3 separate regions of the Homo sapiens genome follow, and regions 2 and 3 are each linked to region 1. The links are contacts of gene promoters, found by promoter capture Hi-C in human tissues and cell types (Jung and others, 2019). All regions are on one chromosome and are shown on one strand. The core of a region is centred on a gene start or on the middle of the fragment in contact, and the rest is flanking DNA. Distances in the headings are between cores, read along the strand shown. Region 1 holds the start of HBP1 (HMG-box transcription factor 1). Region 2 has its middle 46 kb from the start of SYPL1. Region 3 has its middle 41 kb from the start of SYPL1.

Region 1 (2,586 bases), core at 33-2,532:
GGGAAGTATTAATAAAGCTAAAGCCTCCATCCGAGCTGTTAGTAGGACTCCATCGCTTCCCAGTATGTATAACTCCTTTTCTAAGCCTCCTCTCGTCCTGGCATCAGTGGCACCATGAGCCAAAAACAAAACAAACAGAAAACTTGAGTATTACCTCGCTGTCAGTGCTCCTTCTAAAAACGACTGTAGCTGAAAACTCCCTAAGAATGAACTCGAGTGTAGAGTGCACAGCGGAGAGTGAAACACCCTAGACAGCACGCAGCATTTAAAGCTACAAAAACCTGGCTGTCCACTTCGCCTGGTTTGTTTTGTTTTGTTTCAATCGGCCTGCGGTGGCAGCATAGGTTGAAAGGCGGAGACTGGAATCGCCTGCCAAGCCTCCTCTTTGGGTCACACAGAGCGGTGCCTCCCGGTTCACGCCAAGTCCATCCCCCACCCTCTTTCGCCATTCATCGCGTTCCCCTCCCTTCCCCCCATCATGTGACCGCAGCCCGGACTCCGGGCTTGTTTTTCCCCTCGGCTCAGCCCCAGCGCGCAGGCGCCTGGGAGCCCATTCATTCGAACTGCGTAACAATGAGCCCCGGGGCCCAGCGGCTCCGCGAGCTCCTCAGCTCAGCCAGAATCCCCCTCAGTCCAGAAGGAGGCGGCGCCTCACTGGGGTCCCCCACCTCCGGCCAGCCCCCCACCCCTGGCCAAGCTCCGACCCTCCGCCCACAAACGGGGAGTTGAAGTCAAACTTTCCTGGGCAGCCCCGGCGCTGCGTCGGCCCCTTCCCCCGCCCTGGCCCGCCCCATCTCCACACCCGGCCCGGCCACCCACCGCGCGACCTGGCCCGGAACTTCGCCCTCCCCCTGCCTCCTCCCGGCCCCCGCCCGAGACCCCCTAGCGCCGCCGCCCCGAAGCCCAGGTGAGCTCGCGGGAGACGCTGCTCCGGTGGGCTCGCCGCGGGCACCAATCGAACGGTTAACTGCCCCCACCCCAAGGGCAACCCTCCGAGAAGAAGGAACGAGGACCCGAGCCCTCCAGTCTGCCCAATCCCCCGCGCTCCTGCCCCTCCCTTCCCCACCCCCACCTCTTCCCTAACTGAAAGACAACAAACCTGCCGCGAAGTGCCGGCAGCCCAGGCGCGGGCCGCTCCGGCCACGACAACACCACCAGCAGCTCTCGTACCCCCTCTCCGACCGACGTCGGCCTCCCCCGCGCGGGTTACTGCTCCCGCGGCAGCTCTTACTCCTCAACCGAAACTTTCCTACTTACCAAACCCGTCGCCATTACCAAGTCTTTCAAGCTTCGTCTTCCCCCTCCCCTCAACCCCCTGGGGGTTGAGCCCCGCCCAGCTCTTTCGCCCTCTTATTGGACTGCAGAACTGCCATTCGGTTCTTCCCCTTTCCCATTGGGTGGTACCGTGGTCCGTCTCGGGGGGCGGGCATGTATTGACTTTTGTGTTGTGTTTACTGGAGAAGATGGCATGTCAATCACAAGAGTAAGTGCTTCGGATTGGACTATTGCCGAGAGTCCGGGGACCCAAGCCAAACTTTGTCCCCGAAATGGATTGTGGGTTCGTAGTCTCAAGCCTTGGTCCTTGGCTGTGGGAGACTGCTGGCCGGGGAAGAGCTGGACTACGTATCCCAGAGGCGCTCGCACAGCGCAGTCTTGATAGTAAACAAGAGTCATAGGGACACGTGTATCAGCTCGTTTGTTTTGGTGTCTGGGACAAAAGGGAGGGGGCGGAGGAAGGGAGTGTTTTAAAGCTTGGGCCTCTTCTTTTCCTCCGGGCCTCTGCTAACACTTAGAGCGGCCCAAGCCTCTTGCAGCACCCAATCCGGGCCATAAACAGCCAGAGTTGCTCGCTGCTCAAGAGTTTGGCAGGAGGCCAGGGTATTGTTTTAGTGCGAGGGGAAGGAGATGACTGCACCAGCGGAAGTACTGCAGGCTAGCGAGGGACTTGATCACCCACAAATCACGGCCCCAGGCACGAAGGGGTCGAAAGTGATGCTGGGGGCTGCACTGGCAGTGGGAAGAACTAGAAGTCCTTTCTCTTGTGCCTTGCCTCACCACTCCCAGGACAGCAACTTGAGATTGCCTTGTCAGCTCTGTTCAGTTCACCTAAGTTTGTTGAGCCGCCACCTAAGTGCCAGGAAGAGTGAGGCTGGGGGATGGACTGTGAGCAAGCGAGAAGCTGGAGTCTAGAGAATTTACAAAGCGGGGGCGGGGGCGGGCGATTACGAAATTGAGGCAAGTTAAAGCGGCATTTTCCATACTGATTAGTATGCTCGTTGGTTAACGTAATACAAAGGGTGTAATGTATGACGTAAACTGATTTAATTTGTGAATCATTATCAGTAAGTTTCTCTGGTGAGTTTTATTAACCCTCTTTTCCTTCTAGACGTTTTCTCATTGATGAAAGAAACTGTCTTTCCACTTCATTTCCACTAGGAGTTCCTCAAGTTACGAATTCTCTGACTCACCAGAGACGCTTCCCTGCTTTATAGTTAACTTCTCTTTAAACATGGCTGTCCATTCACAGTCGGCTGCATCTAGTCAATAATTGGTGTCTTTACCATTCACATTACAAAGGCATGATTA
Region 2 (2,586 bases), core at 49-2,548, 1.1 Mb after region 1:
TGGCCTCTGCCTGGGGTACCTTTGAGGATGAGCAGCTCCAAGGAGCAATGGACAGAAGCTCTAAATCACTAGTGACCAAGGGTAATGTCACATCCCCTCAATTATTTGTTTTTATTAGAGATCAGGAGAATTTGGGGGAAACCTAAAAGTGATTTTGAGCAGTTATTCTCATGCACTTATAAAGACTTTTACCTCTTGCAAAGGACCAGGGCTGGGGAAAGAGACAGAACCAGGATGTAGGTTGGGCCTCATGTACTTGGAGAATGGTATTGAACTCCCTACAGCATGTGGCCCCCAGTTAAGGGAATGGTTTTTCTATATCACAAATGGAAAATATTCTCATTTCTCTGTAATCATAGTCATAGTGTAAAGCATCCTTCGCTAGGGTTTGAATGAAAGAGGTAATCTCCTGATTTCTGCTAAAGAACTTCTCAAATCCTTCATTGCTGATGACTATGACATCCTCATAGGTGCCATTTTCCTCCTAACTTTTTTCCCAAATATTTCTGATCCACCCCAGCAATGCTACTAGTAAATATTCAGAGATTCCTAATCCTAGACTCCTCAGGCATCCTAGGTTTTAGAAGAGAAAGAGAGTTCTCTTTAGTTAAGAACTTGCTGTGGGCCAGGTACTATGTGAGGTAGTTTGCATCCATTTCATTATTTAATCTTTACAGCACAGTGAGATAGGTTTTATTATTCCCCTTTGATGGATGAGGAAACAGAAGTGCAGAGAGGTTCATTAATTTGCCCCAAATCACACAGCAGAGCCAGATTTGACCTGAGATATATTTGGCTTTCTTGCCTATAGCACATTGCTCCTTAAACTAAGTGTGTCTGGCCAGGTGCAGTGGCTCACACCTGTAATCTTAAAACTTTGGGAGGCCGAGGTAGGAGGATTGCTTGAGGCCAGAAGTTCAAGACTTGCCTAGGCAACATAGTGAGACTCTCATTTCTACAAAAACTAAAACTAAAAATAAAATAAGTGTCTCTGACCAGACCTCCTAGCCTGGCTCACACTGTCTCCATGGTACAAAACATTCATATGGTCGAAAAAAAGTATTGTCTCTCAAATGACTGTGAGATTCCACTATCCTTTTATAACTTCACGATATAGAAAATAGTCAAGCTCTTGAGGTTAAAGTAATGTAACTCAGAATCACATGTGGTCCACTGTGAAAAAGCTTAAGGTGACCCAGGGTGCAGCTGTGACTTCCAGAAACGTGGAGACCAAAGGGGAGCTACATAAGGTGTGGAAGGTGCCGAGAAGCACAGTCCCAGCTTGGGGCTGGGGCACTTCCCACCCACCCCGCGGGCTGTGATTAGCCCCCACACCCTGTCCTGGGCCCTGCACTGGCCGCTGCACACCACGCCCCTGCTCTTTGTTCCCCGGTAGCAGAGCCAGTATAATTTCATGCTTCCTAATTTCTGAGGATAGTGAATCAATTCCCCCCACCAGTTTGCCTAGAAGAAGAGCTTATTTAGACAAACGCCTCCAAGGAAACAGTTGTAGAGAGTCACTTAAGAAAACAAGAGGCTGCTAAAGGAATGCTCTGCGTGCAGTGTGGAACAATTCGCAGTCAGCATGGGCGCTCCTCGGCGGGGAGACGCTCCCGGGCAGAGTGAGCACACCTGCCGCACATCCTTCCCAAAAGGAACTCCGCTCATTCCGGACGCTGGACTGCAAATAAAAACAGCCAACGCTAGAGTCCTGGAGTCGGGGAGGGGCTGGGACAAAGGTGAATGAACTTTCCTCCTCTGGCTTCAGATCAGCCTTTAGATTTCTCAGAATGCCTGAGGTCATCTAAGTGGTCTCTAAGTTACTGTCACACCACCCCCATTTTAAGGGGGTTCAGGGCAGCGTGGCTGGTGGGACCCTCTCCTGGGACACTCCTCCAGGCGCCCCCCCCCATCCCCTGGAGGTATTGGACTGAAAACAAACTGCTCGCTTTAGGGGACAAAGGGCACTGGGGGGTTGAGGCTGCAGAGAGGGAACCCCGGGAGGAGAAATGGCCTCGGGAGAGTGGATTCCAGCTTCCATAGAAGGCTGGGAAGGAGCCACCAAGAAGCTTCACCTCCAGTCCAGCCAAACGGTGAGCCGCGGAGCACACTGCTGGCTCCTGGCAGCCCTGAGCAGTTTCTATTACAAAAAGAAAAGGAGGGGAAAGGCTATGAATGCTGGCCTGGTTCCCAGAACAGAGGCTGCAGGGAAAATGGAAACAACTGTTCGCCGGCCCAGTGGGCTTGGCAAGGGCAGGTCAGGGCAGAACCAGAGGGCAGGTCAGTGCAGAACCAGAGGAAAAGGTGGGAGCCCCCAGGCTCTAGTCCCTGGGACCAGAATCACCCATGCCCCACCCCTTCAAGTCTCAGCTCAGATGTGGTGGGAGTGTAAAGAGTGCTGGATTGAGAGTTTAAGTTTTGGCTGAGCTCCTAACCAGCTTCCTCACATGCCCAGGAATCATGGACTCATAGCTCCCAGAGCCCAGGAAGACTCCCTCACCCACTAGGATGACTCACACAGTCCTGCCAGTCCTGGCTGACAGTGGTCCCTCCCATCCTGAGCAGCCGCCAGGTCATCGCATGCTC
Region 3 (2,586 bases), core at 40-2,539, 1.0 Mb after region 1:
ACAATATGGCCATTGAGAAGCATTTCTTGTTAAGTACAAGAAATTTACGGTCTTTCTTGTCTGGTAATTAAGTTAAAAAGCAACTGATGTCTCTATCATTGCCTTTTTTTTTTTTTTTCTTTTCTGAGACAGAGTCTCGCTCTGTCGCCAAGCTGCAGTGGCACCATCTCAGCTCACTGCAACCTCCCCTCCTGGGTTCAAGCAATTCCCCTGCCTCCGCCTCCAGAGTAGCTGGGACTACAGGAGCGCGCCACCACACCTGGCAATTTTTTTTTTTTTTTAGTAGAGACGGGATTTCACCATGTTGGCCGGGATGGTCTGGATCTTCTGACCTCGTGATCCACCTGCCTTGGCCTCCCAAAGTGCTGGGATTACAGGCGTGAACCACTGCGCCCGACCCTATCATTGCTTTTTTAACAGTCATGTTGCTCATTCTGTGTTAACGGAGCATTGATTTTACTTAGCATTCAGTTCTAAGTCACAAAGGTCTGTAATTTGCTTGTCAGCTTCTCTCTGTTAACAGGCCAAAAAGAAGTACCAGGAATTGGCCAAAGCTTTGAGGATAAGCACTAGTGGTGTTGGCAGCGACATTCCAGCAGAGAGCAGCAGAGGGCTGAGCGCTGGGCAGCTGCCTGCTGCAGGGCTCCTTGCTCCCAGGAATGTATTTGAGAGATGAGGCAAGGCGGGCGGGCGCACCCCAGGAAATCTCCTATTTCAAGGCAGAAAATGTCTAGAATCAGAGAACAAGAAAAGCTAGAATGTACCATGAGCCTCTTTGATCTGAAAGAGATCATAGTTCTGATGGGATCTGTACTTGTTCTAAGTTCAGCCTCTGCTGGGGGTGGGGGTCAGCCTTGTTTTTTTGGTTGGTTGGTTGGTTTTGAAACGGAGTCTCTCTCTGTCGCCCACGCTGGATTGCAGTGGCACGATCTCAGTTTACTGCAACCTCTGCCTCCCGGGTTCAAGCGATTCTCCTGCCTCAGCCTCCCGAGTAGTTGGGATTACAGGCATGCACCACCACACCCAGCTAATTTTTGTATTTTTAGTAGGGACGGGGTTTCACCACGTTGGCCACTCTGGTCTTCAACTCCTGACCTCAAGTGATCCGCCCGCGTTGACCTCCCAAAGTGCTGGGATTACAGGCGTCAGCCAGGGCACCTGGTCTGTTTTTTGTTTTGTTTTAACATAACATCCTGAAGCAACCTTCCTCCTGACTCAGCATCTGCCTCCTGGAAAGCCACCTTCCTTCCTCTGAGGGGCAGCTTCTCCTCTGTTCTCTGAGAGAGGAGCCAGTGCTTTGATGCAGCCTTATGGTTTTTCTTTTGTGGACTGCCCCTAATTGCAGCAGTCAGCAAGTTCTTTGCAGGGAAGGGCTGACTCACCTGCATTTTGGAAGAAGCCATCCTTATTTTCAGGCACAGAGAACATCTATTAGCCCAAAATGTCTTCCAAATTTCAAGGAGTACATGTTTCAAAAGGAATTGTCATCACAGTTTTACTCCAAGCAGTTGGCTTCCAAGAAGCCTGTCTCTGGCCATTGGGGATGTTAAAATAACCTAAATTTGGCCTGAGGAAGCCTTTGCACCCAAGTCCTTACTTAACTAACTGCAGGCAGCCTGGCTTACTAATCTAATTGAAAGCCTAAATTTAGGAGTATGCTTTTGTAAAAAATAGCTGAGTCTCCGCCATCACGGCAACTGAGCTTCCTTCAATCCCTGGCTGCCAACGATCAAATAAGGCAAACGCTGAGCCGGAACCAGTTAAGCCCTATATGTACCTCACTTCTGTTTTCCGTGCATCCATAACACTTGATCACATTGTTGACCATGTTCTTAGAACCCGTTCTGAATCAGAGGGCTGCCTGATTCACATGTCATGTGTTTTTGTTTTCTGAGTTTTTGTTTTTTTCTCACTTAAACTCTGCTAAACTTGTCTAAGGTTTTTCTTTTTAACAGGGTCTCTGGAACTCACTGCTCAAAGATCTTCCCTCTTGTTTATTGAAAGGTGACAGGTCCCCTCTAAAAACTGCAAGGTCAAGTATGTCTGTGACTTTAGCGACTGTCAAAAGAATGCAGGCAGGCCCAACTGAGTGGGGACACAAGGAAATATAGGGGATGACAAACAAGAACCGTCAGCTCTTGTGCCAGCTTCCTACGTACCGTCTGTGTTGGAACAATCACCCAGGTACTGACAGGTGCCAGCCTAGCTGCAGAGCAGGCTAACCCCAACCCCACCAAGCCCTGAGGGTGAACGTGGAGCAAGAACCTGGCTCACCAACTACAGCAAAAGAACCGTCTTGTTGAGCAAACTCTTCCCATGGGACTGTATAATACCTTTGGTTTCCCAACTTTTTACAAATTTACCTTGATCCTGAAATCTCTGCAGCACTTAAAGATTATGGACTTTTCTGTGAGAATCAGAGCTTTTGGACTATGTGACAGTACTTGTTGCCTGCTCAAAGTCTATTCTTCCTCCTTCCTTAGTGAGAGAACTTTGGACAGTATGTTTGTTTAAAAAGAAACAACAACAAAAAACTGCATTCCAAGCCTCTTGCACAGATTAATGTCACTAAATATGCCGGCGAGC

What was found. The method cuts DNA at HindIII sites, captures the fragments that hold promoters and counts their contacts. A contact is called where the count stands out against the background at its distance.
Region 2: a fragment that was not itself captured here is called in contact with the fragment with the promoter of HBP1 in region 1 in 1 of the 25 tissues and cell types used here (dorsolateral prefrontal cortex).
Region 3: a fragment that was not itself captured here is called in contact with the fragment with the promoter of HBP1 in region 1 in 1 of the 25 tissues and cell types used here (hippocampus).

Annotation. Positions count from the first base shown.
Region 1 is chr7:107,167,699-107,170,284 of GRCh38, reverse strand. It overlaps HBP1 (HMG-box transcription factor 1), which reads right to left and starts at 1,282. Exons shown (of 11, transcript NM_012257.4): 1 at 1,100-1,282. RefSeq lists silencers at 583-802, 1,063-1,162, 1,181-1,754 and an enhancer at 1,473-1,632. The HindIII fragment of the contact is 2,484 bases long and covers 1-2,170 here.
Region 2 is chr7:106,065,033-106,067,618 of GRCh38, reverse strand. No RefSeq gene overlaps it. Among named protein-coding and RNA genes, the nearest start is that of SYPL1, 46 kb to the left of the region's middle. The HindIII fragment of the contact is 5,558 bases long and covers 1-2,586 here.
Region 3 is chr7:106,152,051-106,154,636 of GRCh38, reverse strand. No RefSeq gene overlaps it. Among named protein-coding and RNA genes, the nearest start is that of SYPL1, 41 kb to the right of the region's middle. The HindIII fragment of the contact is 3,135 bases long and covers 1-2,586 here.